7 separate regions of the Homo sapiens genome follow, and all the other regions are linked to region 6. Evidence: promoter capture Hi-C in human tissues and cell types (Jung and others, 2019). All regions are on one chromosome and are shown on one strand. Each heading gives the region's core, a stretch centred on a gene start or on the middle of the fragment in contact. The rest is flanking DNA. Distances are from core to core; before and after follow the strand shown.

The links. Contacts are between HindIII fragments. The study calls those that stand out against the background at their distance.
Region 1: a contact is called between a fragment that was not itself captured here and the fragment with the promoter of GPD1 in region 6, in 1 of the 25 tissues and cell types used here (spleen).
Region 2: the fragment with the promoter of SLC11A2 here is called in contact with the fragment with the promoter of GPD1 in region 6 in 1 of the 25 tissues and cell types used here (liver).
Region 3: a contact is called between a fragment that was not itself captured here and the fragment with the promoter of GPD1 in region 6, in 2 of the 25 tissues and cell types used here (aorta and liver).
Region 4: a contact is called between a fragment that was not itself captured here and the fragment with the promoter of GPD1 in region 6, in 1 of the 25 tissues and cell types used here (dorsolateral prefrontal cortex).
Region 5: a fragment that was not itself captured here is called in contact with the fragment with the promoter of GPD1 in region 6 in 1 of the 25 tissues and cell types used here (dorsolateral prefrontal cortex).
Region 7: a fragment that was not itself captured here is called in contact with the fragment with the promoter of GPD1 in region 6 in 1 of the 25 tissues and cell types used here (dorsolateral prefrontal cortex).

What each region holds. Positions count from the first base shown.
Region 1 is chr12:49,271,410-49,274,405 of GRCh38, reverse strand. It overlaps TUBA1C (tubulin alpha 1c), which reads right to left. Exons shown (of 4, transcript NM_032704.5): 4 at 1-2,153. The coding sequence ends at 1,179. Among named protein-coding and RNA genes, the nearest start is that of TUBA1C, 7.8 kb to the right of the region's middle. RefSeq lists a silencer at 126-420. The HindIII fragment of the contact is 6,713 bases long and covers 1-2,996 here.
Region 2 is chr12:51,024,926-51,027,662 of GRCh38, reverse strand. SLC11A2 (solute carrier family 11 member 2) reads left to right here and starts at 1,279. Exons shown (of 16, transcript NM_000617.3): 1 at 1,279-1,353. RefSeq lists silencers at 899-1,618, 1,629-1,688 and enhancers at 1,094-1,705, 1,706-2,319. The HindIII fragment of the contact is 17,071 bases long and covers 1-2,737 here.
Region 3 is chr12:50,625,082-50,628,116 of GRCh38, reverse strand. DIP2B (disco interacting protein 2 homolog B) reads right to left here. Exons shown (of 38, transcript NM_173602.3): 2 at 2,070-2,141. Among named protein-coding and RNA genes, the nearest start is that of DIP2B, 120 kb to the right of the region's middle. The HindIII fragment of the contact is 7,348 bases long and covers 1-3,035 here.
Region 4 is chr12:50,768,227-50,771,198 of GRCh38, reverse strand. The region is part of intron 1 of ATF1 (activating transcription factor 1); the gene reads right to left. Among named protein-coding and RNA genes, the nearest start is that of ATF1, 5.6 kb to the right of the region's middle. RefSeq lists enhancers at 1,291-1,791, 1,792-2,292. The HindIII fragment of the contact is 6,244 bases long and covers 1-2,972 here.
Region 5 is chr12:50,666,098-50,668,874 of GRCh38, reverse strand. The region is part of intron 4 of DIP2B (disco interacting protein 2 homolog B); the gene reads right to left. Among named protein-coding and RNA genes, the nearest start is that of ATF1, 97 kb to the left of the region's middle. The HindIII fragment of the contact is 3,395 bases long and covers 1-2,777 here.
Region 6 is chr12:50,102,675-50,105,711 of GRCh38, reverse strand. GPD1 (glycerol-3-phosphate dehydrogenase 1) reads right to left here and starts at 1,704. Exons shown (of 8, transcript NM_005276.4): 1 at 1,621-1,704; 2 at 961-1,138; 3 at 24-164. The coding sequence starts at 1,661. RefSeq lists an enhancer at 2,645-2,694. The HindIII fragment of the contact is 8,009 bases long and covers 1-3,037 here.
Region 7 is chr12:50,694,090-50,697,190 of GRCh38, reverse strand. It overlaps DIP2B (disco interacting protein 2 homolog B), which reads right to left. Exons shown (of 38, transcript NM_173602.3): 15 at 1,831-1,924; 16 at 1,224-1,343; 17 at 16-130. Among named protein-coding and RNA genes, the nearest start is that of ATF1, 68 kb to the left of the region's middle. The HindIII fragment of the contact is 3,836 bases long and covers 1-3,101 here.

The DNA of each region.
Region 1 (2,996 bases), core at 57-2,556, 830 kb after region 6:
AATCCCAGCACTTTGGGAGGCTGAGGCAGGATTGCCTGAGCCCAGGAGTTCAAGGCCAGCCTAAGCAACATGGCAAAACCCCATCTCTACCAAAAAAAAAAAAAAAAAAAAAAAAAAAAATTACAAGAATCAGCCAGGCATGGTGGAACACACCTGTAGTCCTGGCTACTTGGGAGGCTGAGGTGGGAGGATGGCTTAGCCCAGGTCAAGGTGGGGGTGAGCTATGATGGTGCCATTGCACTGCAGCCTGGGAAAGAGACCATCTCAAAGAAAAAAAATTTAAGACGTGTCTGAAGCCTCACCTCAAGCCTATAGAATTAGAACCTGCATTTTGTTTTTAAATTTGAGAGTCAGGGGTCTCCGTCACCCAGGCTGGAATGCAGTGGTGCAATCATGGCTCACTACCTCAACCTCCTTGGGCTCAGGTGGTCCTCCCACCTATAGGCAGGTGCCATCACAGCATGCAAATTTTTGTTTTGGTAGAGATGGGTTTTCACCATGTTGCCCAGGCTGGTCTCGAATTCCTGGGCTCGTGATCCACCCAACTTGGCCTCCCGAAGTGCATGAGCCACCAGGTTGACCCCAAACCTGCATTTTAATATCTACAGGTGATTCACATCCATTTTAGTTAGAGAAGCACTGGCTCAATCTGAACCCGTTTCCTCACTTACAAAATGATTCTATAACCACTTAATTCAGGCCCAAATTAAACAGATAAACCAAGAAGCTGGGCAGTGGCTCATGCCTATAATCAAAACTTTGAGAGGTTGAGGCAGGAGGATCACTTGAAGCCAGTTGAAGACCACCCTGGGCAGCATAGCAAGGCCCCATCTCTACAAGAAATAAAAATAGCTGGGCATGGTGGTGTGCACCTGCAGTCCCCAGCTACTTAGGAGGCTGAAGCAGGAGAATCACATGAGTCCAGGAGCTCGAGGCTGCAATGAGCTATGTATTATCATGCCACTGCACTCCAGCCTGGGTGACAGAGCAAGACCCTCGACTCAGGTGGTTTCATCTACCAGCCTCATACATCCAACTTTAACTGGATCAAGTATTTAAGTCAGCTCGACATTTAAAATGGAAACTTCAATTTTATTAACAATTTACGGCAATAGACATTTACAGAACAAAAATAAGACAGTTCCAAGACAAAGGAGTGTAAAAGTACAGCACACAGGTTAATACTCTTCACCCTCATCCTCTCCGTCAGCACTATCTGCTCCAACCTCCTCATAATCCTTCTCAAGGGCAGCCATGTCCTCACGGGCCTCTGAAAACTCGCCTTCCTCCATCCCCTCACCCACGTACCAGTGAACAAAGGCACGCTTGGCATACATCAGGTCAAACTTGTGGTCCAGGCGAGCCCAGGCCTCGGCAACAGCTGTGGTATTGCTCAGCATGCACACAGCTCTCTGTACCTTGGCCAGGTCTCCGCCAGGCACCACAGTGGGAGGCTGGTAATTAATGCCAACCTTGAAGCCAGTGGGGCACCAATCCACAAACTGGATGGTACGCTTGGTTTTGATGGTGGCAATGGCAGCATTGACATCTTTGGGAACCACGTCACCACGGTATAACAGGCAGCAAGCCATGTATTTACCATGGCGAGGGTCACATTTCACCATCTGGTTGGCTGGCTCAAAGCAAGCATTGGTGATCTCTGCTACAGTAAGCTGTTCGTGGTAGGCTTTCTCAGCAGAGATGACAGGGGCATATGTGGCCAGAGGGAAGTGGATGCGGGGGTAGGGCACCAGGTTGGTCTGGAATTCTGTCAGGTCAACATTCAGGGCTCCATCAAATCTCAGGGAAGCAGTGATGGAGGACACAATCTGGCTAATAAGGCGGTTAAGGTTAGTGTAGGTTGGGCGCTCGATATCGAGGTTTCTACGACAGATGTCATAGATGGCCTCATTGTCTACCATGAAGGCACAATCAGAGTGCTCCAGGGTGGTGTGGGTGGTGAGGATGGAGTTGTAGGGCTCAACTACAGCTGTGGAAACCTGGGGCGCCGGGTAAATGGAGAACTCCAGCTTGGACTTCTTGCCATAATCAACTGAGAGACGTTCCATGAGCAGCGAGGTGAACCCAGAACCAGTTCCCCCACCAAAGCTGTGGAAAACCAAGAAGCCCTGAAGACCGGTGCACTGGTCAGCCTGCAAAATAAAAAAGTTTCATTTTAGTGTTGCGAAAGTTTCATTTAGTGTTCACATTTGGTGAAACCTACAGAGGACTTCTATAAATCTATGGCTACTCCAATTGCAATTTTAAAACTCTTCTGGGCCAGGCGCAGTGGCTCACGCCTGTAATCAACACTTTGGGGGTCCAAGGTGGGAGGACCATTTGCATTTGAGCCCAGGGGTTCAAGACTGATGATCAGGCCACTGCACTCCAGCCTGGATGACAGAGCAGACCCTGTCTCCAAAAAAAAAAAAAAGCTTTTAAGTGCTAAGTGATTCAGAACAACTTTTCACAATCAAGTCCTTGAGCAGAAAAACCTTTGCTAAGACTATTTTAAGATGAACTATTGCCTTAGGCAGAGGAATCACAAGGCCTGGGCTTGCATACAGGGCTCAAGTTTTGGTAACTGGGAAGGCAGCCTCTGGTTCTCTTGCTGTGGCCACAGAACAGGGCAGTTTCTTAGTTGGAGAGGTCCTAAGGGGCAGGCCCAGGACCACCAGCCTGGTACAGTGGATGTCTTGTAAAGATTTGGCAGCTGCTTTCTGAGGTGGAACAACAGAATAGCCAAAGTTCTAACACCCTGGTACTGGAGTCAGGCTGTGTCAGGATCCGGCTGTACCAGTTCCTTACTGTATGACCACATTCATTTCTCAGTTCTTCCACTGATTAAGTGAGAATAGTAATCACCTTAGGTTGAGAATTAAGTAAGTACTCAGCATAGTGCTTGGCACAGTAAGCACAGTATTGGCCCAGTAAGCCAATATATGACACTAGGTACCAAGAAGCCCATTTATTTTGGGTAAAGTGACACAACCACA
Region 2 (2,737 bases), core at 30-2,529, 920 kb before region 6:
TAGGCCATTTATTCCCTCTTCACCAGTTTGGCAGTCTCATCTTCAGAGCAAAAGATACGGTGTGAGGCTGAAACTGGCGATAGAGTGGGATTGCTTTTGGGTAGGTAGGATGAAGTCTGGGGAGAATCGAGTCAGCTGGGCGAGGAGGAAAACAATTCACTACGGAGGCTTGGGAGGACACCTAAGGCGGTCAAACTGGCTGCACTAGCTGATGTTTCTCGGTTCCTCCCAGGTGTGGGGTGCTCTTGGTGGGGCAGCAGATACTATGATGTGGCTCTGGGGGCGCGAGGAAATGTTCCTTCCAGGTGGCTATCCTTTTTTTTTGAGACAGGGTTTTGCTCTGCCACCCAGGCTGGAGTGCAGTGGCACGATCTTGTCTCACCGCAGCCTCCACCTCCCAGGCCCAAGTGATTCTCCCACCTCAGCCCCCGAGTAGCTGGGACCACAGGCGGGCGCCGTGATGCCTGGCTAATTTTTTTTTTTTTTTAGACGGAGTTTTCGCTCTTGTTTCCAAGGCTGGAGTGCAATGGCGCGATCTCGGCTCACTGCACCTCCGCCTCCCGGGTTCAAGCGATTCTCTTGCCTCAGCCTCCCGAGTAGCTGGGATTACAGGCATGCGCCACCACGCCCGGCTAATTTTGTATTTTTAGTAAAGACGGGGTTTCTCCATGTTGGTCAGGCTGGTCTCAAACTCCCGATCTCAGGTGATTCGCCCGCCTGGGCCCTCCAAAGTGCTGGGAGTACAGGCGTGAGCCACCGCGCCCGGCCTTTGCTTGGCTAATTTTAAAATTTTTTGTAGAGACCGGGTCTCACTATGTTGCCCAGGCTGGTATCGAACTCCTGGACTCAAGTGATCCTCCCGCCTCGGTCTCCCAAAGTGCTGGGCATTACAAGTGTGAGCCTCCGCGCCTGGCCTGGCTACCCTTTACAGGATAGAGCTATACCTCGTAGCTTGATTGTCAGTACCTAACGTGGCGCCACGGCGAACTAGGGCAGGAATCTTATCTGTCCCCAGACTGCTAGCGGACTGGAGCTCCCCAGTCCAGGGGCTGTGTGGGTCTGGCCAACGCAAGCAGCAACTAGGCAGCATGCAGCTCCCGCCGGGTGCCCCAGGGGCCGCCGCGTGCCCCAGGGGCCGCCGCATCCAGACTCCGCGTGGGCGGAGCCTAGGTCCCTGGTCTGCGGGCCACGCATCCCGGCCGCTGCAGGGACTCCAGCCAATAGGGATGTGCGGCTGCCGTCCTGTCGACCAATCGCGGGGAGGGGAGGGCGTTAGCCAGCGTGGCGCTGGCTCCCGGAATATGGAGCCCTGGGCGCGGGGGCGGCGTGTCAGGTGGTTGCGGAGCTGGTAAGGTGAGGGGAAGGCAAGGTCAGGGGTCACGGCATTCCGCTCGCTGGCAGGGAGGGGCGCGGGGCGGCTCGAGGGCCTGTGTCGGGGGTCAGGCTCCGGGGCTAGGATGCGACACCGGCTCGCCGTGCGGGGCTGTGAGGGGAGGTGTGGCCAGGGAGGGCCTCAGGCCCAGAGTCCAGGACTGATGGAGTCGCGCCATTCAGAGAAAGACCCAAAGATGGGGGCAGGGAGGGAACGCCGGAGGTCGCGGGGGTCTCGCCCCTTCCCCGCCGCGGCCTAGGACACATGGCCCAGCTCCCAGCTGCACCGGATGGCGCGCCCGGCCTGTGTCGGGGTGCGCTGACCTGCTTCGACGCCTCGAAAGAGGCCGACGGGCACAGGGCAAGGTCTTTCGTGGCCTCTTCGTCGGCGCCGCAGGGGGCCGGGCTGCTCTCCGGGGCCTCCCGCCGCCCCGCTTCAACAAAAGACTCATTATAACCTAACCGACTTCAGGGAGCGCCTTCTGTGTGAATAGCCTGCATACGCGGCTCAGTAATTGTGGGTAGATTGGTTTTAAGGCTGTTTGTGTAGCTCTCAGGGACCCTCTGGATTCCAGGCTCCAATGAGCAGGGTTTTTCTACAGGGGGATATTGCACATATGTAAGTGGGCTGGATGGCTCTCCCAGCTGTGCGTTTCATGTGTCCCCACTTTTAAAGCTACCGCTTAAATGTGACATCTCTTGCAAAAGCAAAAATTATATGGAAGGAGAGTTTGCAAGGGGAGATAGGCTTCTAAAAACTTGCTGGCCTCAATTTTAGTGACTGTTGGTGAAAAATGGAGAAGCTATGTTTACACTGACTTCTGGAACCCGAAGCCCCACCAGTTCGCATGATTTCTTGGCTTTGTAAATCTTTGAGCATGTTGTTTGCCTCTTTCTTCTTTTGTTCCACGTACTTAAAATGGGGATTGATAATATCAGTCTTACAGGGTTGTTGGTATGAAATTAGTTAATAAACAACAAAGTACTTAGAACTCTTGATGTGGAGGAGTTTTTGTTGTTGTTACCTTCTTTCCCCTTAACACTTCTAAAGAATTCTAACCTTATTACTTATTCTTTGCTCAGAGTCTCATGACTTATCACCAGTGAACCCGCCGGCCTATACTTTCCATTGACATCATTAACTTTGATCTGAGGGTATAGTGTAGTTATATGTGACTAGAGGATTTCTGCTGCGTGTTTGTTTTATTAAATACGGTTGGAAACTATCATTATACTAGGTCATTTATTGTGATACCTGTGTTGGGTAAATGAAACCTGAAACCTTCGGCTGTTTATTTTTTCATTGGACAGTATTTCATTGACAGTCTTGCTTGGCCTACTCAGTTTATTTTGGAGCCAGTACTAA
Region 3 (3,035 bases), core at 41-2,540, 520 kb before region 6:
TTACAGCGTGAGCCTCCACGCTCGGCCCATCATTGCTTTTTAAGTTCTCTACAGATACTGTGTGCCTTACTGACTGCAACCAGGTAGACTGCTCTCACTGCCCTATCCTTGGTGCCATTGGATAGTATAAGATTTGGGGAAAAGGAGGAGGGGTTGGGATCTAAAGCATAGGTAGAAGGACTGTCCTTGGCCAGGAGGAACAGATAATCTTTTTAACCAGAAGGAAGGAAGTAATCATGGAAGGGGACAGATGTTGGAAGTGTGGCATCAGGAAGTTGAAGGAGTTGTCATCGTATGCCTTCTATTTCCCCTGTGAGGTCACCTGCAAGGCCATCCCTACTGGGGGAGGGATATGCCACATTCTCTTGGCCTACTGCAATTAAACAACTGATTCATCAAATGCATGCTCACTAAGCAAATGATTTGGTTCCCATTATAGGCTTGCCCATGGGGCAAGAATGTGCTGACCATACAGATTTCTCATAGTAGGCCAGGCGTGGTGGCTCACACCTATAACCCCCACACTCTGGGAGGCTGAGATGGCAGTACTACTTGAGCTCAGGAGTTCAAGACCAGCCTGGGCAATAAAGTGAGACCCCAACTCTACAAAAAATAATTAACTGGGTGTGGTGGCGCACACCTGTAGTTCCAGCTACTCAGGAGGCTGAGGCAGGAGGATCATTTAAACCTGGGAGATTGAGGCTGTAGTGAACCATGATCGCACCACTGCGCTCCCGCCTGGGTGACAGAGCAAGAATCTGTCTAAAAAAAAAAAATTTCTCATAGTAAATTAATAAATTGATTTTTGAACATGATTTGGTTTCTGCGTAGCCTGACTACGGATAACAAACTGTGGTCCTTTTTACAGTTATACCTCTTGCTGAGCTATTGCTTTTACACCAAGTGACTCAAGTAAATCTCTGGGCCTTCAGAGGCATGGGCCAGATCCACAATAAGCAGCAAATCAAGGTAACCTCCTCAACCCCTAGGTCATGCCTTGCTCAGCAAAAGCTGGCTTTTCACTAGCTGTCGCTGGCCCAATTTCCACCTCTTTTCTCTCAATTCATTTCTACATACACCTATTCATTGAGATATCTTAAATTAGCTGTCAGTGTATTGACCTACTAGTTTCTCTATGAAGGTATTTCCAAGAACAATACAGGAAATAAAACAAGCACATCAAAGAAATATATTGGTATATCACCATTATTTATTTATTTATTCCACTGTTCATTCAACAAATATTTACAGGCCATAAACCCTGTGCAAAGCTTACTATGAGAACTGTGGGAGATACAAAGTCCTCATGGTATTTATAATTCAGTAAAAAAAAAAAAAAAAAGCCATTAGTTCCACAAAGAACAGGCTTGCAGAAACACACTTTGGTTGAAGGGGGTAGAAAATCAGAAATAAAGACAAAACACCCTATAGTAAAAGTGATATAAGCAGAAATAGGCTGTCAAAGGAAATCCTGCAATCTGAGTAACTTTAAAAATATGATGATTATTTAGAGACAGCCTTGCTTAGAGGCAAAGGTTATGGCAACCCCTTTGGCATTAAGCATGAAATTAATTCAGGACTTTCTGATATATAAACAATGTGCTAGTCTCTCTATAGAAGCAGTAAGTCTGGCTTTGAATTAATCTACAAGTTCATTTAGGGTTTTACCCCCCAATCCTCAAGTATTGCCATTCGATAGGGGATCTGTCCTTCCTTCCTCCCTCTTGCTCTTCTTCATCACGGTTTGTGCACCATCATAAATACGATGTGGTTTTTCCATGGCTTGGAATTTTCTGCCATGGAATCATCTCAGTTATGCATAGTCTTTCACACACTACCACCCAAGTTCTGTGTAAATTATCTGATGACCTTAGGTATTTTTAAAAGTGCCTAGCACACAGCAGATGCTCATTAAGATTCATTTCCTCCTTTCTTTCCTTCCGTTTTTTTCTCTCCCCTGGTGAGGAAGGGAGGGAAAAACAGGAACAAACAAAAGATAGAGGTCTTGTAAGACAGCATCTTTTGGTGTAAAAATACTGAAAAAGTTGAAACCATTTTTTATTGCCTACCTTGTGTCTGCGGGCTGTAAGGAGATAGGAGTTTGGACCTTTTCTTTTCATAGCCCTTCTGGGTGATGTCCCCTAAAATAGCAAGAAACAGAAATAGGTTATGCATTATTCTTACTCTGTGGTTTTCCACTGTAAAAATAAAATTAATTACAGAGTTATAGAACTACCCCATATAGAGGCAGGGGGTTGGGGGGGGGAATGTATGGTTCTTTGCCAAGGATTTTGCTATGTATGATTTCCCACAGGCTTGGAGCTGACTTCCTGTAGAATACTGTAGAGCTTGTCCCAAAACCAATCTTGCATAGCAATATGTTGTATACCATGACAGAGATCCCCAAGTTCCTAGGCATCCCCAGCTTCCTTGGTATTTAAGATATCCCAAAATGGAATGCAGCAAGGCTGACAACGATTTCTCTCTGGAGTTTCAATTTACCAAATGAGTACAACTGGTTTCTGAGGTATTCACTTATACTGCTATACGAACCACATAAAAGTAAGAGAAGACAAAGTTCAGGCTCTGGATGGGATAATTAAAAGGACTTTCTGTACCCTAACACCTGTGCTGGAACCTGGGACTGGAATTCCCACATCCCCTCCCCTTGGTTCAATGCTTTGTCTTATTTACTCATGTGGCTCTCCTTTCCACAAAGTTAAATTTAAAAGTATGTATGATGCACAAATTAGTGCATATACAACAAATGCAATAAGGATAAACTGATAAATACAGGAGAAAATCTGTAGTTGAAGTGGCAAGAAATGGACTAGGTACTAAGGAAACGGAAATAGATAAATGAGTAGAGAGTAGGGTTAAAAGGAACAGGAAATGCAGAGAAACAAGAGGACGTTAAGGGAGAATGAGTGATTTAAAGCTGAGGGATGAAAGATATGTGGTGAGGTGACATGACAGAGCACTGTTTTCTGAAAAAGAACCTTTTAAAATAAGAGATAACTTTATTTACTGTGAAG
Region 4 (2,972 bases), core at 138-2,637, 670 kb before region 6:
CCCTATCTCTACTAAAAATATAAAAGTCAGCTGGGCGTTGTGATGTGTGCCTGTAATTCTAGCTACTTGGGAGGCTGAGGCAGGAGAATCACTTGAACCCAGGAGGCGGAGGCTGCAGTGAGCCAAGATGGTGTCACTGCAGTCCAGCCTGGGCGACAGAACAAGACTCTGTCTCAAAAAGAAAGAAAGAAAAAAAAAAGAGTAAAGCAAAATAAGTAAAGTTATTCCAAATAAACTAAATTAGAAGACTTTTCATGAACCAGGCAACCACTGGAACTAAGCTGATATCGGGTTGTTAGCTGATTGTAATGTGCCCAGAATCAGAATACTGATCCAGATTTTTAAATTACCCATCCCTCTTATTTCTTCTGAGCAACAATTAGAGATTACTGGTTGGTTTACAAGAATACGCAGGGTTAGCCTAAATTGCAGAAACAAACTTAAAAACAATTAATGAGACCAGAATTTAATAACAAGTGTACCATAGTTTTTGAAACATAGTATTTCTCTCTCCAGTTTCCCATTTTTACTAAAGACAAATTATGGTAAGACTGACTTGCTTTATTATACTTGGCCTGATTGTTTGTATAAAGTGCAGCAAGAATAATAATTTTTCACATAGGCTTTTTAATTGGCTTTGATGGAACTCTGTTTCATAAGGAATCTCAGATAAGACTTTTTTAAAAGCCAAGCCCTGACATGGGTTTGTACCCTTAAATACCTATAACTTGGGTAAATTTCTCTCCTTTTGAGGTCCCAAGATAACTTGGGGCTCCTGGACAGGTGAGAAAGTGACATTCTTTACTTACCATAGGTCAGAAACCCTGTACAGGCACTGTGTAGGCAAGGTATGAGGCCAGTTCCCCAAAGGGCTTTTATTGGCTCTACAAGTCAAGTTTGATTCCTTAAAGAAAAGCACACCATTTCAGTCAAAGCCTTGGTAAAATAACCACTTTCTCCAATTGTATTCTGTTACAAAAGAAAACAGATTCTTATTGCACTTATGCAAATAATTACATTGCCATAAGTTAAGAATACTCACAACTAGTTTCCAAATTCTGGAGAAATCTGATATAGAGAAACAAATATGTTCCAAATTTCGTTCACAGCAGTATACTTTACTCAATTGCTATGAACTGTAAATAGCTCAAATGAAAAGTTTCCTTGACTCTGAAAAACAAAACAAAGGATCAGCAACATTTTAATCAAAGATTACTTCAGTTTTCTATTGGTTCAGTTGATTCAATTAACTCATGTTTCATTTGATATTCATGAACATTCTAGCTCTTCATGAGTTCTGAAAGTTGTTTCCTCTATTCTAATGTTACAATTTCCAAAGTTATTAGAAACCTGCATTTAAGAACACCTGCTAGAGTTCTATAGCTGATTATAAATCATCTTCTAAACAGGATTAAAACAAGACAACAATTGTCTGTGGATGATAAAAAGTTTTAGGAGAGCCACTATTAAAGCCAGAAATGATAAGGAAATTTGGTTACTTCTGTGGCACACAATATTTTGCATAACAATTATAATTATTAATAACATACACTAAATCATATTAGAATTATAGGAGTTTCCCATAACTTTGGAACATATACCAATAATACAGTTATGTAAATATAATCCAAAGAAAGCAAAACACCATTTGACATTTGATAATGCTTCCTGTATGAATTTTTTTTTTTTTTGAGATGGAGTCTCGCTCTGTCACCCAGGCTGGATAGAGTGCAGTGGTGCAATCTCAGATCACTGCAACCTCCCCCTCCCAGGTTCAAGCGCTTCTCCTGCCTCAGCCTCGAGTAGCTGTGACTACAGGTGTGCGCCACCATGCCCGGCTAACTTTTGTATTTTTTGATAGAGATGGGGTTTCACCATGTTGGCCAGACTGGTCTCAAACTCCTAACCTCAGGTGATCCATCTGCCTCGACCTCCCTAAGTGCTGGGATTACAGGTTTGAGCCACTGTGCCCGGCCAACTTAGAATAATTATTTAACTCTTTAGCCAAAAAACCCCACATTTCCATGCCTTCTTATAATCTTTTACCAAAAGTACATTCTATTTTCCTTACTACACACCTTACATGTAAAACTGTCTCTTCAATAGTCTCAGTTACATGTTCCAATTTTAACTTTTAGCGACTTTTACTTTTGGTGAAAACCCTGGTTAGTAAGCAATTTTAATTATGTACTAGGTGTGGAGCCTAGCCTAGGACACACCAGGCAGAAGTGCAGATAAGAGCTGACTCTCCAGCACAGCTTAGGGGCGTGGCTAACTCCACATGTCCCCAGGCCTTATCTAGAATCTAATGGCTTTAAGGTAGGGTAAATTGAACAATTTTTAAAAGTCAAAGAAACAGTTTATGACCTCAAATCATTTAACAAACTTAATATCTGACCTGCATAATTAAGATTAACATTTTTATCAATTTTAAAGATGTGTTTATTTCCTAAAGATTACTAAAGTTACATGAACTAAAAGGCATTAGTTATTTTGCTTTCAAAATATTTGATTTAAATGTTTATTTTTGTTTAAGCTGATTAATCAGAGCTCTTTTATATAAATATTACACACGACACCTATATAGCTACACAGAAAGACAGATGATGATGATAACAGTGGTTGTAAGATTTTTCATTTGCCAGTTTTTAAGTTTCTTAATTGGATTACCGGCTTCAGGGTGGAGCCCTTGGAAGAACAGGGCCACGAAAGGGGTCTCTGGTGCCTCTTGTTTTTCCCAAGGAGTCCAGGCTGTTAGAGCTTGAATATCCACTTTTAATTAAACTTATTTTAACCATAGCACTCTTTAATAAAGTCCTTTTAGAAGTTTTTATGCCAAACGGCTGGTATTTCTGGCTTTTGAATTTTATCAAAGGTAACCTCCCAGGTGCTTAGAAAAAGGAAAATATAAGACAGTTCACAGAGGAGAAGAGAATAGACAAAGTCATGCAGATATTAAACCAGAAACGACT
Region 5 (2,777 bases), core at 251-2,750, 560 kb before region 6:
CAGAAAATATTCTAACATTTCAACTGTACCCCGGGACACAAATATTCCTGTCTTAGCAAACATGTTAAAAAAAACAGAGAGGAAGTTGGGATAGGGCCCCTAGGATAGGTGAATTTGACCTTAAGAATAAAGTATTTTCAAGGTAAGTTATCTCAAGATTCCACAATCTCCATTGGATTTGTGGGCTGCTTTTATTGTATCATTTTATTGTATCATTTATATGTATTTTAATTTGTTTAAGTTTAAAATCAGAATAACCCAATTTTAAAAAGACAGTAAAACCAGTATTTTCATGATTAGGTTTATGGAAAATGGGTTTCATTATGTTTCTATATTGGATCAATTATGCAATTAGGTGTATTGTTTCAATTCAGTTACCCTGTTTGTCTGCCAGTCTTCAGTGTTTAATGACTTACAACTATGGGGCAGCTTAGCGTAGTGGAAAAAAACATGGCTTTGGTGTCAGTCTTCCATTCAAACTCTAGGATCCACCTCTTACTAGCTATGTGACTTGGGGATAAAATTACCCATCTGAGAAGACTGTTTACTTATTCGTCCATTTGACAAACACACTAAGCACTACAGTAGTTGGTAGGAATAAAAAGTTGGGCAAGAAGACATAGTCCCTATTCTTATGGGACTGAGATGAGTTAGAGGAGTTCAAGGCAGGCACCCAAGGAAGTAAGACCTAACCCAAGGCCTGATGGCTAAGTAGGGATTAGTTATGAAAGGCCCAGAGGTAGGGAGAGTGCAGCGTCAGGTAGAGGGGGCTGCACGCGAGAAAGCTTGGAGGGGACAGAAAACTTTTTAAAGATATTAAAGAAACAGAGACTAGCCAGAGCACAGATGCAAGACTGATAGTCATGGAGATGAGACTGGACAAGTAGGTAGCATTGGGCCACCAAGGGCCTTGTAAGACAAGCTAAGGAAACTTGCCTTTATCCTAACCATAGCTGGGAGACCATGAACAAAGACACTGTACAGAAAGCACCCATACTGGTGCCAGCCCATAGCACCTGGCCAATCAACATTAATTCCTCTTCTAATCCCCAGGAGAATGGTTAAAAGGAATGTGTATTTCTTTTTGATTTGGAATAACCTGAAATTTTTCCTAAGAGTAATTTAAATGGCTAATTGCTTCCTATAAACATGAAGGGAAAGATAGCAGAAACTGACTAACAGTTGGTAGAAGAAAATAATACTGTGCCAAATGATGCCACCTGAGAAATGAGGTGCTTACTATGAATAACTCAACCTATGGTCACAGATAAGAAACTATCCGGGTAAAGTTAAAAGACGATTATGTAGTGAAGTCTACATAAAATGTAGCACTGCTCTGGGATTGTATCTTTTTAAAAATCAAAACAAGGTCCCTTAAATATTATTTTAAAAGCAATTTGTCACCCAGGAAATTGTTATGAATTTGTAGAAATTTGGGCAAAATTAAATAATAGAAATTTATCATTTCCCTACTGATTCTGCTCTGATTAAAAATAAACTCATGACTGTTATCACTTATAAATAAAACATCTTCCCTAAGCTCTTATATATAACGAATACGCAACAGAAAACAATTCTGAAAACATAGTTTGCCTTTCAGTTTATAATCTGCTGTGATTTTAACAAGGCACCATTGAATACTGGTCACCAGAAGCCTACAATCCATCTATAACCAATTAGTAAACATATAAACAATTAGCATGTTGGCCGGGCGCATTGTCTCACGCCTGTAATCCCAAGCACTTTGGGAGGTTGAGGCGGATGAACTGCTTGAGCTCAGGAGTTTGAGACCAGCCTGGGCAACATGACAAAAACCTGTCTCTACAAAAAATGCAAAACTTAGCTAAGTGTGGTGGTGTGTGCCTATAGTCTCAGCTACTTGAGAGGATGGCCTGAGCCCAGGAATTTGCTAATTCCTTTTATTCTTTTTTTGAGACAGGGTCTCCTGCCTCAGCGTCCCGAGTAGCTGGGACTACAGGCGCCCGCCACCATGCCCGGCTAATTTTTTGTATTATTTAGTAGAGACAAGGTTTCAGCGTGTTAGCCAGGATGGTCTTGATCTCCTGACCTCGTGATCCACCCACCTCAGCCTCCCAAAGTTCTGGGATTACAGGCGTGAGCCACCACGCCCGGCCTCAGGCAAGCTTTTTTGACAGGTTCCTTTTTTCTAATTCACCCAACTGCTAAAGATGCAAGTCCCTCCAGGGATCTTAATTCCAGCTTGCAACCTTAGATGGGCCCAAGGTTTTATCATTATAGTTAACATTAAGGTCCCTGGCTTGCTGATTCTCCTCCCTACAGCCCAGCGGAAGTAAGCACCACCTCACCATTCTGATTTTTCAGTGTTCATCATTCTCCCTTGCTCCTGTATACATTTTTTAAAAAGCTGGTTACATTTTACCCAGTATTTCTAAAAGAACATTTTCTTTCCCCTATCTTTCTAGGAGATAATTTTCAGGTTATCTAACTGATATGTCTAAAAACAGAAGTCTGGGCAAGTTATTGAGCCTCTCTAAACCTGTTTTCTCTTCTGTAAAATGGGGTAGAAAACTGTTGAGTGAACTAAAAATGAAAAAAATATATGTTAAGCACTTAGCCCTTTGACTGGTACACTGAGGGCATGCAATAAATGGTAACCATAACATTACTCTTATCAGCAAACCTTAAATTTTACAATCAGGTATTGAAACAAATTCAACCGGATACAGTGGGTTTTTATTGTACTTTGGCTTAAAGAACACTGGATATTCACTAGTCTCCCAAGTAATTGTGGACCA
Region 6 (3,037 bases), core at 455-2,954:
CCACATGAAGGTGTCCCTGGCACCTTAATAAGAGATATGCCAGTGGCGTTTGCCTTCAGATGGCCCTTGAGCTGGTCACAGATCTTGCCGATGAACTGATGGGGCACCACAAAGATCAGGATGTCAGCATCCTCTGCAGCCTGGACCACATCTGGGACAGCCACCTGTGGGGGTGACCAAGTGCTCGCGGGCCTGGCAGACCTCCCCTAGCCCCTGTGGAACCCTATTCAGGAGATCTGGGAGCCAAAGAGTGAGGCTGGTAGGGGAGCAGGAAGGCTTGTTTGGGACTGAATCTAGAAGGACTGAACTTGGAGGAATAAGACACTCTACTCCCTCCCCCCAGCTACCACTCTGTCTCCCTCCAGCTGTCCTGGGCTCTTGAGGACTCCTGGAAACCTCATCCCAGCACTCTCCTATCCCTTGGCTGTGGGACAGTGCGGGAGGCCAAAAGCAGCCTGGGCTTGGCAAAAGAAAGAGCTCAAATAAGATTTCATCACCCAGCTCCTCAGGAACCCCAGCTGGGAAGGGGGAGCCCCAGCCTTTCTGCTCTCTTCCCTGCTTCCCCTTTCCAGGTGGGGAGAGCCACGTGGATTTGACCAAAGACCGTAAGTCCAAGGAGCAGCCTCCAAGTCGGCTACTCACTCAGTGAATGAGTAACAGGATTAGTGCCGGAGGCAGGCACTACTGGACCCCAAGTCTGGGAGCCCAGTCTTTGGCTGCCATGGAGACCAACTTGTTCTCCCATCCCTTCCCCACCCACCCGCCTGGGAGCCTGTGAGGGGAAAGCATAGGTTCTCCTCAGTCCTCAGGAAAGGGCCCAGAGCAGCCCTCCTGAGACCTTCCCAAGTCCTGCTGCACCTGAAGCGGCCCTCTCAGCAGGAGGCACCTGTTGAGTAAGGTCGGCTCCAACTCCTGGCCCTCCCTTCCTCTCCCTGTTCTTCGCAGGGTGTTGGGGCTCACCACATTTGGGGGCAACTTGTGCCCTGGCAGGTATTTGACATTCTCATGCTGCGTGTTGATGATCTCAGTCAGCTTTTTGCCTCCAATGTCTTCCTCAAATACCCACATGGTCACCCGTGGGTCAAACTGTGCCAGCTGGGCTGCATTGCCACCCACGATCTTGGCGATGGCTGAGCCCCTGGTGGGAGGGGGAGCACAGGAAAGTACAGGAGGAGGGAACAGTGGCAGGAGTTGGGGCAGCGCCCCACCTCAGGATCTCACAGCAGCCCCCCAGGCTGTTCACTCCTACCTACCTTCCTTATCACCTCCACTCCCATGACAAATAGTCCCCAGTGACCTGGCAGTAGAAAGGAGACTCAGTCTCCTCACCCTTTGCTACTAGAGAAGGGAGCCCCACTTCTCATCTTCCCACCCCCAAACTCAAGCGGCTCTTCACATAGAGAGCTCTGGAGACGCCTTCCCATGGTGAACAGGTGCAGCTGCCCAGGAGGGCGGGGGTCAGGAGAGGGCCGGGCACCGTCTGTCCTGTGCTGCTATGATAGAAGATAGCAGCAGGGGCTGAACAGGAACCTGAGGGCCTTTCCCACCCATTCTGCCTCCTACCCACCTCTGTCTTGGGGGGCCTACCCTTCCCCCATATCACTTGACAGAGCTGCTTACCAGTTCCCGGAGCCTACAATGCAGACTTTCTTGCTAGCCATGGTGCCGCGTCTCTGCCTGAGCCGGCTCAGTGCCACACTCCCTAGCTCCTCTGCCGGCTAGGAGCATTTAACTCCACCACACGTGGGTGCAGCCAAGCCCCGCCCTCCAGGGGTGGGTGGGGAGGCTGGCGCCCAGGGAGATAGAGAGTCTGGCAGAGCCAGGGAAAGGAGAGACAGGGGTACAGACAGGTGTGGAACAGGAATGGGGCAGAGACTAGGCCCAGCTTTTTCTCCTGGGCTCATCGGCTGACAGTGCTGGCAAGCTTCTTCCCTTGGCCCCAGCCCAGCTTCCCACCATGGTCTCATTTTGAGGTCTGCTAAGAAAATAGCCCAGATAAGGAGCAGGTGACTGCTCTCCCTTGCTCCTTTCTGTCCCCCAGCATGAAATAAATTGTATTTAGCTTCAGTAGCAGCTAGGGGAATGCTTTTCAGAGGTAGGCTCCTCCATGACCCCCTATCCCCCCGCCAACCCTGCCACATATCCTCACAGGACCCTGTTCCACAGTTCTGTCCTCCAGCAGGCCCACGCTAGCTCCACTGCAGGGCTGGGGTGGGGGATGTGGGCCCACTTCCCACCTCTAAAGATGAGGCCACATAAGAGGTAAGGGCCTGCTTTGAGGACAGCCCAGCTCAAAAAAGGATGAGAGACTCCAGGTGCCTCAAAAGACAAGATTGTCTTGGTCACCCACAGAGGTCATCTTGGGGACTCATCCATGGGCCTCTCAGATGATCCCCACCCAAAAATGTGTTCTAGGGAAGGTGGGAAAGGTTAAAGTTAGAGAGCTCTGAGAATTGCGGTACACAATTTTGTTGTAGACTCTGGGCTTAAGAGGACAGGAGAGAATAGGAGGCAGGCAGAGTGCACACTGTCCTTGAAAGGCTTTGAGCCTCCTTCAACTCCTCCTCTCAGGGGTTTCCAAGGTACTGCCCCAGGGGCTTCATCAGGTGAATGGCTAGTTTGCAGAGGCCAGAAAAGGGGAAGGCAGGCAGTACCCGGGGCAGCTGTGTCCGTGGGGCTTTGTGGTCTCAGATGCTGTGATTGGGGGTAAGTTTGGTGTATGTTTTTTGGGGAAGGGCGAGAATGGAAGGAGCACCCTCAGCAGTTCAGGGCTCTGCATCGCCCACGGCCATCTGTTTGTCTAAGACGAGGGAAGCTCTGGTTTCCAGGCTGATCTGGAGAGTGGAGCAAGAGGCTCCTAACACTGTGCACCTTGGCCTAGAGGGCAGACACCACTGTGTGCTCATGTGCTGACCTCCTGGCTTGGCAGACGGCTAGGTGGGTGTTGCCATCCCCCTGGGCTGTTGCTGGCCAGCAACTGGTAACAAGCACTGGGCTACAGGGGAGTCTGTGTGCAACCCATGGGTAGGAGTAAGCA
Region 7 (3,101 bases), core at 187-2,686, 590 kb before region 6:
CATCCTGAACAGTACCTGCGGATTGCTACAGTCATGGCTTCAGCAGACGTGGCGCACGGACAGATGGCCTCAGGCTTCAGTCCATGACTTTGGAACAGACTCAGGAAGGCATCACAGGATGACACGGACCCTAAGGAGTTGGAACAGATCAACCTGAAGCTGAAATTATGCTTTTCATTACTGTAGGAAAATGGTAAAGAATAGAAAGCTGACATACTTATTTCTCATGAGAACTCATATTGTATATTGTTAATTCCACGCAAATATTTTACTGTCCCTGTGAGATGGTTTGATATATTTCAAGGACAAATTAATGCTCATCCAGCCCATAAAAGGTCACTGACACTATTTAAAATTACACCTTGGAATAAGGCTGCTCCTATTAAACTGACAAATCAGTATCAGAGATAACACTGCAGGCAATATGCAGCCAGTTTATAATTTAGCAACTCTTCCTGAGGAACTGTCATAGCCAGTGCAATTTAATATTGGCTTAGCTCCACCTTCTATATGATATTAAGGTCAAGCCCATGTCTGTGTTTTAAACTATGATGATCAATGTGACTACTAACAAAGTCCATTTATGACAAACAGTGTAGTGCTCTACCTGATTCTACTGTGTGAAGGATCAGGATTTGGGGGCTTGTAGAGAAAAGCAGGTAACACAGGAATACCCAGTTACATGATAGAAAGAGGTTATACATGAATGAGCAAAAAAGAATGACTTAAAAGCTTATAGATCCATCAAAAGATGAATGAGTAAATACAATGTGGTATAACTATACAATGGACGATTTCCTGGTAGTAACAAGGAATGCAGAAGTACTGACAGATACTACAACATGGATGAACGTTAAAAACATGCTAAGAAAAAGAAGCCCATCACAAAGACCACATACTGCATGACTGCATTTATAAGAAATGTTCAGAATAGGCAAATCTAGGGAGACAGGCAATAGATTAGCAGTCATCTAGGGCTGGGGCAGGAGGAAAAATGGCGAGTGACTGATAATGGGCATGTGGTTTCTTTTTGGGTGATGAAAATGTTCTAAACTTAGATTGTAATGATGGTTACACAACTCGTGAATATACCAAAACCACTGAATTACACATCTTAAATGAGTGAGTTTTTCAGTATGTGAATTATATCTTAGTACAGGGCGAAAAACCCTAATCTATCAAAACACAGGATATTCCCAGATCCACAATGAAGAAATACTCACAGGGGTTAGCTCCATCAGTCACAATTAACATTCGGAGGGAACTCAAGCTCACGTCTCTTTGGTCCCGATGTGCCATCATAGCCCAGTGCAAGTCCCGACATTTTACTAAAGCTACCTTGGCTATAAATTCAAAAAGGATGAAGTTAACATACACAATAAATTTGGGACATATGTAATACACCACAATAAAAACATTTTTACTTATTTGGGGAATCATGATATTTGCTTGGAGAAGATAAAAACGGTTTCAAAGAGATTGTGCCAATAGCTCAGAGGCAGAAATTATCACATTTAGACAACTGACTGGACCTACAATTGTTTGTTCACTGAGACCCTCTAGGCAGGTCACAGTGTCCCAGCCAAGGAAACTGTGAATACCAAGACAGTCAAATCTAATTCAAGGCTCGCATTTGGAAAAAATTCATCTCAATGCTTAAGAGAGGACATCAGTGAGATGAACAGGCAAGGTACCTAATTCTGTAGTAACTAAACTCTACAATTTGTTAAGGGACAGGGGCATACAAGGGCAATTTGAAAATCTCTGAAATCCCTGAAATCTTAATTCAAACAGTCACATAATTAAAGCTCAGATGTTGCAGGTGACTACCTTTGTGAGCATGTACTCTTTGGACCCAAGAGAGAGGACAGGTTTTCATAACAGAGTAGGGTACGCTGATTGTGTGCATCTTATTCATTACATTCTGAAAAACAAAGAAAGAAGAAAAGTAATCAATACAAAATACATACTTAGTATTTTAAAATTGAGCTGGTATTTTGTTAGCAATTTTAATTATACAAGTAATACTCAAATACACACTCTTTGAAAACAATCTTAAATATTAAATATAAGATTGAAGTTCCTTTAATACCTACCCTCAAACCTGGTTCCCTCCTCTCCTCGCCAGAGATAATCAGTTACAAATTTGACAGATATCCTTCCAATCTTTTTTCAATGCATTTTCATAGATATTTGTTCCCATAGAAATATATAAGTATTTTTAACATAAAAGACATCATATTATACATATATCTGTAACTTGTTTTTTTCATTTAAATTGTTCTAAAGCTAAATCTATGCATATCAGTATAAGAGATCTACATAATTCTTTTTGAACTGCGGCACAGTATTCCATTGTTTGGCTATATCACAATTATTTAGGCATTTCCCTATTAATGACAATTTTTTGCTACTACAAAAAATGTTTCAAGGAGCACATTCCTACTTCCTTCCCTGGACTTGTGCAAGTATTTCCCTATATGGACATGTAGTACTGCTGTCATATGGCATATGCTTTAAAAAAAAAAAAAAAAAAGAGACAGGGGTTTCACTATGTTGCCCAGGCTGGCCTCCAATTCCTGAACTCAAGTGATTCTCTTGCCTCAGCCTCCAGGGTAGCTGGGACTGGTGTATGTATGTATGTATGTATGTATGTATGTATGTATGTATGTATGTATGTATGTATTTATTTATCTGAGACAGAGTCCTGCTCTGTTGCCCAGGCTAGAGTACAGTGGTGCGATCTCGGCTCACTGCAACCTCTGCCTCCTGGGTTCAAACAATTCTCCTGCACAGCCTCCTGAGTAGCAGGGATTACAGGTGTGCGCCACAATGTCCAGCTAATTTTTGTATTGTTAGTAGAGTTGGGATTTCACCATGTTGGCCAAGCTTGTCTTGAACTCCTGGCCTCAAGTAATTCGCCTGCCTTGGCCTCTCAAAGTGCTGGGATTACAGGCCTGAGTCACAGTGCCCGGCTGTGGTATATGCTTTTAAAATGCTAACAGACACTGCCAAACTGCCCTCCAACCCACTTAATGCTTTTATCATGTTCGTACTTGCCACATGCCACAAAGGGGCTAGCTGGGCATCACAAAGCAAGA